Linked DNA regions of Homo sapiens: regions 2 and 3 are each linked to region 1. The links are contacts of gene promoters, found by promoter capture Hi-C in blood cells and fetal thymus (Javierre and others, 2016). All regions are on one chromosome and are shown on one strand. Each heading gives the region's core, a stretch centred on a gene start or on the middle of the fragment in contact. The rest is flanking DNA. Distances are from core to core; before and after follow the strand shown. Region 1 holds the start of NDUFB6 (NADH:ubiquinone oxidoreductase subunit B6). Region 2 overlaps C9orf72 (C9orf72-SMCR8 complex subunit). Region 3 overlaps CAAP1 (caspase activity and apoptosis inhibitor 1).

Region 1 (2,829 bases), core at 6-2,505:
TTTTCAACAATTCTATTGCACTAGACTTTGTAGCACAGTAAGAATCAGATACATGTTGATTACAATATGAACTCATATTCAATTCCTAGCTCCCTGACCACCAGCAAATCACTGAAGCTTTGTAGGCCTCAGTTTCTTCACATTTAAAATGAGGATTAGGAATATCTACCTTACAGGAATAAAGAAATGAAGTAACACATGTAAAACCCCCAGTAGAGTGCCAAGCACACAGCAAGCACCCGTGTGTTACGTAGTATTGTTACTACTATTATCCTGTCATCAGTAAGTGTTGCAGGTAACTGAAAGCAATTCTGAGATGTTTATCATCCATAACAGTCCTCAAGAAAATACCCAGAGGCCTTGAAAATAAAGTTCTTGAATGAGTGATTTTCTTCAAAGCCCAAAATGCGATTTTTTTAATGAAACACTGTGTTAAAAGTACAGAACGGTAGTTTAGAAAGGTAGCTCTTGAATGTGACTCACAAGGCATACCAACAGGACCCTGTCTTTTACGGGGATCACATGGGGCTGTACTATCAGCTAGGGGCTGGCTGTGCCCTCTGGTGGTTGGATACTGTGTTACTTGGTCTCTAGAACCTCACACTTAAAAGTCAGACAAGTGTCCTCAAATACTTAAATCACAGAATTTTAATTCTAGCGAGTCCTTGGTTATTATTCTGAGGGAAGATTTCTACAGTCAAAAGAGAACCAAACGTGCAGCGTCCTGGAAAACCTAAGTATTAAAATTCGCCCCCGTCCACTGTACTTGACAGTAAAAGGCATGATTCTCTCAAAGCCATACATATTCCTGGACTCCTGCCTCCCGAGACTCCAGGAGGACTCTCGGGACTGGCCAGTGTCCCAGAGCACTGAGCGTTATCAGTCCTTGGTGTGGCTGCAGGGAGCGGACGTTCAGTGTTCAGGCTGCCGGCAGCAGTGGGATGTGTTGGGGGGGACCGGAGAGGTCTGTCACTCACCATTTTCCTCCAAGGGGATTTATTCTCCAAAAATTTATTCCAGAATTTCTCCATAGGCCCCATCTTCTGTGGGGGCAGCACCGGCTCCCGAGGGCTCAGCTCCTGGTCCTTCAGCCATCGCCTTCTCAGCTCTCGCAGCTGCTGCAGCCGCAGTTTCTCATCCGGAGTGTACCCCGTCATGTCGCCGCTGGTACCAACGCAAAAGGACACGGCGCACCCTCGAACTACGGACTAGTTACTTAAGCGCGCTCCCGCTCTGCAAAGCGACCTTGCGGGAACGCCGAGCGCCGCGCGCGGTTATTACGTCACATCCTGGTTCCGCCTCTGCAAGGGCCCCAGATTCCTCGCGAGGAAAGCAGTGTGTGGGCATGCACAAAGGTCTCCACCTCCAGTTCTCTCTACGCCCACCTCCGCTATACCCGACCAAATTAGGACCGGGTGGGGACAAGGAGTACTCGTAGTTGTGGGGCCTGAGGAAAGTGACAGATTAGACGAAAGTATGCTAAATTAGAGGACTGGAGGTTTTGCTAAGGAAGAACTTGTATGCTGGGAGGAGGAAGGATAAGCATAAATGTTTCAGTGAATATGCTGGCCAGATTCAAAATTATTTGCTTGCCTCTCCCACCTTGGAATGACCTAGAGAGTGTATGAAAATAGTTACATCCCAGTTCAAATCCCAGCTATGCCAGTAACTGCTGAAGTGCCCTGGGCAGCTGTCTCATCTGTCCCTCCATCTGTACAGGAATAGTGAAAAGAGTAGCTTAATATCTAGCAAAATTGCATAGATGAATTCATGCTTTCACCCAAAAATACGTGTGGTGAAAATATGAAAGAGCATGCACGACTATTCAGCACGATTCATAATACCAAAATATTGGAAATTACCCCCAAATTCCTAAATAAAGGACTGCTTGAATAAATTGTAGTACAACAGTCAAAAGACAGCATTACAACGAATTAGTTTAAAAATCTTAATTGACTCTTATTCGTGATTCTAGAATCAAAAAACACCTCATTCTATAAAGTAGAATGAGTGTTCTGATCAGCTGAGCAGAGGCGGTTGGTTTTATTGGCAAATAGGGGCTGAAGAAAGCAGAAACCGAACAAAAAGTGGACTCATCGTTTCAAAGTTACTTTTAGGGTTAAAGCAGAAGAAACTTCCTTGTTTCACTGACTCAGACTTAAGGGAATTTCCTATTTTTTGGGAAACTGGCCCATTTCAAAGTTCAGTTTGATTGTGTGGTACTTAGCACAAACGACTCCATTCTGGTTTGGTCTGGTCTGCTGGGGCCTAGTGCGTGAAGCTAGTCCAAAACAGTGGCTTCCCAAAAACTTTCACACAACAAAGCAATGAAATGCTAATACAATCGTCAAAAGTAATAAGGAAGAACTCTATATACATCTGTGGTGTGATCTCCAGAATACATTACAAAGTGGAAAAAAAATGGATAGGAATTTGTACAGTATGCTTTTACCCAAAAAGAGAAAGATGGTGGTAATTTCAATATATATACATATTTTCTTAAATTTTCAAAATAATGGGAATGAAAACAATTGAGGTTTTTAAAGATGCTACCTATGGTGGAGGAAATAAATAGGATAGAGGAGACAGGGATAGAATCTAGACATCTCTGGAAACATCTTACTTCATAAATTTGACTTTAGAACCAAGTAAATATTTCATATTGTGAAATTAAATTTAGCTTAAAGATGTCTCCGTATTTTGAGTCCTTATATAATGAACTGCAACCCAACTTAGTATGCAATTTAACTCACAGCCTAACTTAGGAATATACTTCTGTAACAAATAACTGAGTCTCAGCCAATCATCACAGGTGGTCAACTGATCAGC
Region 2 (2,904 bases), core at 131-2,630, 5.0 Mb before region 1:
CATGTAGGCACTCAACAAATACTGGCTATTTCTAGAAGAAATGTAAATAGGAAATGTTAGCTATGAGCTATTATTAAGTGTTTTTATGTTCCAGGCACTGTTCTAAGTGCTTTATATTATTTATCTTACTCAATGCTTATAACAACCCTACACATTAGGTACTATTACTATTATTGCCATTTTACAGATGAGGAAATAGGTGTATAGAGAATTCAGGCACCTTGCCCACGGGTACACAGCATTAATCCAGGGAGTCTGGTTTAAGGGCACAAACTCTTAAGTACTAAACTCCACTGCTGGATGGAAAAAGATCAGTATAAATATGAATAATTTTGTTCTACGCCTAAATAACTTAAGTTCATCTACAGTACAACTTAATATGAAAGGATTCTGTTAGCTTTAATGAGAAGTAAAACAAGAAACCAGAATCAAGCAAGGGGCCATGATTTCTTGTCTGGGATGGAAACTCGGTTTCTTTAAATAGCAAATGGAATAACACCAAATATATATAGAAATATAATGAGTGAAAAATAACACAAATTTAAGCAACAGTTCAAATACGTAATGTCCCTAGAACAATCTAAGTAGACAGTCTGTTATTTTCTTTCTTCCAAATCTTGTCATAGGTGAGCATAAGATGGTATCTGCTTCATCCAGCTTTTATGAAAAGAAAAATTCTTACTTGAGAAGAAAGCCTTCATGACAGCTGTCACCAATATCATCATCATTGAGTACTGTATCAGCTATCTAAAATGCATCAAAAAATAAAAAAATTAGTCTGGCTGTAACATAGTGTTGAAATAACACTTTTAATATACAAGTTTTCGGAAGTCTGGATTCAATATAACACACTGCCTTCATTTCCGAGAATCAAGACTCCCCAAAAAACAATCTCTGTGCACTACCATAAACTTCAGAAGAACAAATGTGAAAGCTGGTCAAGCAGGTTAAACAATTTTTACAAGAACAACTTCCTCTTCTGAGCTGTCAGAATCAGGAGACTAACCTAAATGACAAAATCAGAAAACAACAAGAATAGTTTCCTAAAGGTATCTCTTAACACTCATAGTGTGTGATTCAAAACGTCCTCAACAAATGATTAAGGAAACTAAATTTGTGACTACAAGTAAACTTCCATTAATGGTTACTACTTTGGCACACAGTTTTGTTTCAAAAGACACTACATTAAATATTAATTGCTCCTATAAGAGCTGGGATCCTCCCACTTTTAGGAATTATAAAAGTAATGAAATAAACAAAATGAATTTAATTTTGTCATCACTGATCAAAAATGCCTCTGTTTTGCCATAAAATCCAGGATTTTGTGTGTGCTTATTTGCTAAAGTGGCTAATACTGTATGTGAATAGTATGTATGACAAAGTCCTTACTATTAAAATTAGAATATTAATAATATACATAATAATACTATAACCCCAAAAAACTCATAAAGTGTATAATTGCTCTCATTTAAACTTACATCTATTTCTTCAGGAACACTGTGTGATTTCATAGATGAAAGCAGTTCCATTACAGGAATCACTTCTCCAGTAAGCATTGGAATAATACTCTGACCCTGCACAATAAAGTGACATGAAGTGAAGAAAATCACGTAATATGAGAGAAGCTGGGCAATAAAAAATAAAAATAACATCAAACAATAACATTCTTTGATGAAAATACTTCGTAATTTGTTCAAACACAGTATCAAACAAGTCTACTACATGTCTAAAGGATTTATATGCAATCCAAAGCTCACTTTTATTCTTTCTTTTCTTTTTTTTTTTTTGAGATGGAGTTTTGCTTTCATTGCTCAGGCTGGAGTGCAATGGCGTGATCTCAGCTCACTGCAACCTCTCCTCCCAGGTTCAAGTGACTCTCCTGTCTCATCCTCCCAAGTAGCTGGGACTATAGGTGCCGCCACCATGCCCGGCTGATTTTTGTATTTTTAGTAGAGACGGGGTTTCGCCATGTTGGCCAGGTTGGTGTCAAATTTCTGACCATGCCCGGCCCTAAAGCTCACTTTTATTCTTTAGAGAGTATGGAATCATTGGTTTATCGTTTACTGTTACATGCAATGATTAAGTCATCATGCCTCTTTTAGAAAAGATCTCCTTTAAAATTTGAGATAAAAAAAATTTGTTAAAGGTCATCAATATATTTCATATTTAAAAATGAGGAAAACCAAGCACAAAAAGACTTTGAAATCCTTACCAAATAGGTAAGGAAAACTTGAATCAATACCTAACCTCCATACTCATAAAAGTATAATCTACCCAAATGCAAATCAAAATCAGCACATATATTTTAAGAATCAATAAAACAGAAAAATTCCCTTTAGAGCTATTTCAAGATATTACTACTTATTACATCTTGAAATTGTAATTTTGAAATTTGTAGTCTATAGAATCAAACTGAAAATTCAGTATAACACATCACAAATGTAAAGTGTCTCAAATATGGATGGTCCCTCATTTATTCACTACCACCACCAGTCTCATCAGTTTTGTGACCAACTTGGTTAAGTAAATTTTTTGAGATATAAATGAAATTGTCAAATGACTATGCATTTTTAGCTAAACATATTTTTTAAATCATACATTATTTAAGATGAATTTAATACTAGTTGTTTTTCCTCACTTATTTTATGAAATGATTTTACTCAAAGTCTTCATAAGCATCTTTAAGTTAGAATCTTTGTCAGACCCAGGGCCATTTTTGGAGTAACCTTAACCAGTTTTTCAGAGCCCCATATTATTAAGTTGCTTGAGAATTTAAATGTGATGCTACTTCTGGAAGTTTTATCCTAAGCCATATGCCCATTTGCATAATGCTGAAAGTTTTATTTAAAAAAAAACCATCCTTTAGTAACCTCCACAACTAACTATTCACTGTTTTTAGTTTTT
Region 3 (3,045 bases), core at 409-2,908, 5.7 Mb before region 1:
ACTCTATATCTGGGTCTTATTAGAGAGTAAACAATATGCAATAGGTGACTAAACACTATAAAAAATCTAAAGCAGAAAATTAAAAAGATTTTAAGGGAAATCTTTGCCTTTCCAATAATTAATTTTTTTACAGATTTTTGGTAAACATTTTTTATTTCATTTTATTAGTTATACTCTTACCTATATACACTTGACCTGGAAAAACAATATATTGTCTATTCTTGAAACGCTTTTCTGATATGTAAACTATATTTTTTAGTGCAAATAGAAGTAAAAATACTCTTCAACAACAACCCAATAATGAAATTAAATATCCAAGTAGGAGAAAGAATACCTCAGGATTTATGCTGAATATAGTATTAACTAAGAAGTTGCCAGAATGTAAAAATATGTATTCTTACCCTCAAGAATCTTCAAAATTTTTTTTTCAGACAGGAGCTCTAACTGTTCCTGGCATAGTTTTTTAATTTCTTCTATTGAACAGTTCTAAAGGAAATGACATTTTAAAAAAATGCATTTATGTAACACAGCCCCAATGTAAACTGGAAAATTTCAATCATAAAAATTTAAGTTAGCAAAATCTTACAATAAAATAAATTAAAGCCTCAAGTAGATTCACATACATCTTTTCCTGGGATGAAATCTGAAAAACTGCCAGTTAATATGTGAACACTGCATATTTGAAGGGAATGCATAAACTTGTATTTACTATCAAAGAAAAAAACTAAAGAGTGAGTCAGTTTCCCAGCTATTCTTAAGCAGTCTATTTATGTTAAGTAATTATTCTAAAGGTTTAAATATTCAAGTCTTGTATCTTTAGATATATGATCTCAGGCTTAACTTTAGTGACCAAGGCCAATTTCTACAACTGTAAAATTAAAACAACAAATATTTCCCTAAATAATTTTCAAAAATAAATAAAAATACTTGTGAATCTAATGAAATATAAGCTATTATTAACCATTGCTGTTTGTTGTTACACAGCAGCATATTGTGACATTATTTCTTAAAGCACCATAAAGATTGTATGTCCAATTTAGTTACTATCATTCCCTGCATTTAACAGAATTATCTCCACAGAGTCAACACATTTCTTGCCTAAACATTTCTTCGTGGCAAATTTTTAAATATACAAGGCTCCAAGAACCAAATATATTATGGTTCTCTATTTTACAAAATCTTTTCAAGTAGCTTATTTTAGATGTAAACATCCAATTAAAAACTGCATTAACGCCAGGCACGGTGGCTCACACCTGTAATTCCAACACCTTGGGAGGCCAAGGTGGGCAGATCACGAGGTCAGGAGTTCGAGACCAGCCTGGCCAACACGGTGAAACCCCGTCTCTTAAAAATCCAAAAATTAGCCGGGCATGGTGGTTCATGCCTGTAGTCCCAGCTACTCAGGAGGCTGAGGCAAGAGAATTGCTTGAACCCGGGAGGCGGAGGTTGCAGTGAGCCAAGATCACGCCACCACACTCCAGCCTGGGCGACAGAGCAAGACTCCGTCTCAAAAAAACAAACAAACAAAACCGCATTAAGTAAAACAAAAAATTGCTACAAAGAAGGCTGTATTTCTACATATGTATCTAGTCTGATGTGTAATGAAGTACCTTTAACACATCAGGAAGCATCTTCTGTAACTTTTTCTCTCCTATAATACAGAAGCACTGCTGAAGCATTTCTTTTTTGTCTGATATATAGAAACTAACTGGTTTCAATGACACAGTCAGGTCCAGTCCACCTTCTTCAAGGTCACTGTGCTCTGCCAAGAATAATTCTTTTTCCAAAGTTGGCAAAATATATTTAGTTTCCTAAAGTTAAAAGAATAAAGAACCATTAAACAATACTACTTAAAATATAAAGAATACGTACATGACATCATACGTTTTCATTTAATAAATTCTTCTTCATCAAAAATTCCCAAATTCTTTGCATAATTATTTATCAAAACCATAGGAGAGAATATCTGTTTAATATTACTTGATTTTTCTCTCCACACTGCAATTAACTCAAGGAGTAGCTATAAGGGAAGAGATATTTAGGATACACAAACAAAAGTATAGTAAATATTGAATAATTTCTTAAAATTTTAGACTTTTGAAGAATTAGGATTTTCCCCTAAAAGGCCATTCACCCAAAAGCTCTATGTATGCATTATCACTGTACTTAAATTCATATAAATAAATTGAAGTAAAGATGTTACAAATCACAAATATTATACAGAAAAGTAACATACGTACCAGGAGCTATCATCATTTTTAAAACTTTATAATCATAATCAAAGTAACCAAGTAATTTCAGTAATTTAAGATATTTCTGTCCATTTTACTTTCTGTCTCCCAACTCTATCCAGTCTCTCCAAATCTACTGCCATAATTCTGTTCCAAACTACCACAATTTTTTGCCTGGGTTACACCAATAGCCATTTAATGGGACTCCCTGCATCTAATCTGAGGTCTCTTTGTTTTGTACACTGTTAGCAGAATGGATTTTATAAAATGTATACGTACTCATCCTTCTTGTTTAAAACTCTTCAATGAATTCCCATTGCTCCTAAGGTAATATGGCCTACCTGGCCTTCATGCTCATTCTTTGTGTTTAGGACACAATCTTCTTTGAATTACTCGACTGTAACCTATTCTCCTTCCTTCAGCTCATAGAAGCAGGGCTTTTGCATACCATTTTCCTATGACAGTCTTTCCTCCCTCCTTTATCTATCACACTATATTCACAAGATTAACAAATTCAGATACTTCAGACAATTCAACAGTCATTTCCTCTGGAAAATCTTCCCTGACCACAGAGGTCAGATAGTTGTTTACAAAGCAGTTTTAAAATGGGTCAGTTTTAATGAACACTATGATAATTAGACTGAAAAAGTAAAAGAATCAGCACTTGTTCTAACAGTTTACAATGTAATAATGTAGAGAAACTGGAATCCTCATACACTGTTAGCAGGAATATAAAATTGTGCAGCTACTTTGGAAGCTAATTTGGCAGTTCCTCAAAAAGTTACCATATGACCCAGCAATTCCATTGCTAGAT

What was found. Contacts are between HindIII fragments. The CHiCAGO score rates a contact against its expected background, and 5 or more counts as called.
Region 2: a fragment that was not itself captured here is called in contact with the fragment with the promoter of NDUFB6 in region 1 in 1 of 17 cell types (non-activated CD4 T cells); the score reaches 6.4 in non-activated CD4 T cells.
Region 3: a fragment that was not itself captured here is called in contact with the fragment with the promoter of NDUFB6 in region 1 in 1 of 17 cell types (total CD4 T cells); the score reaches 8.4 in total CD4 T cells.

What each region holds. Positions count from the first base shown.
Region 1 is chr9:32,571,904-32,574,732 of GRCh38, forward strand. It overlaps NDUFB6 (NADH:ubiquinone oxidoreductase subunit B6), which reads right to left and starts at 1,256. Exons shown (of 4, transcript NM_002493.5): 1 at 978-1,256. The coding sequence starts at 1,157. RefSeq lists enhancers at 804-1,343, 1,614-1,663. The HindIII fragment of the contact is 6,496 bases long and covers 116-2,829 here.
Region 2 is chr9:27,560,903-27,563,806 of GRCh38, forward strand. It overlaps C9orf72 (C9orf72-SMCR8 complex subunit), which reads right to left. Exons shown (of 11, transcript NM_018325.5): 4 at 1,479-1,574; 5 at 683-747. Among named protein-coding and RNA genes, the nearest start is that of C9orf72, 11 kb to the right of the region's middle. The HindIII fragment of the contact is 8,318 bases long and covers 1-2,904 here.
Region 3 is chr9:26,885,703-26,888,747 of GRCh38, forward strand. It overlaps CAAP1 (caspase activity and apoptosis inhibitor 1), which reads right to left. Exons shown (of 6, transcript NM_024828.4): 2 at 1,611-1,811; 3 at 402-486. Among named protein-coding and RNA genes, the nearest start is that of CAAP1, 5.6 kb to the right of the region's middle. The HindIII fragment of the contact is 6,458 bases long and covers 1-3,045 here.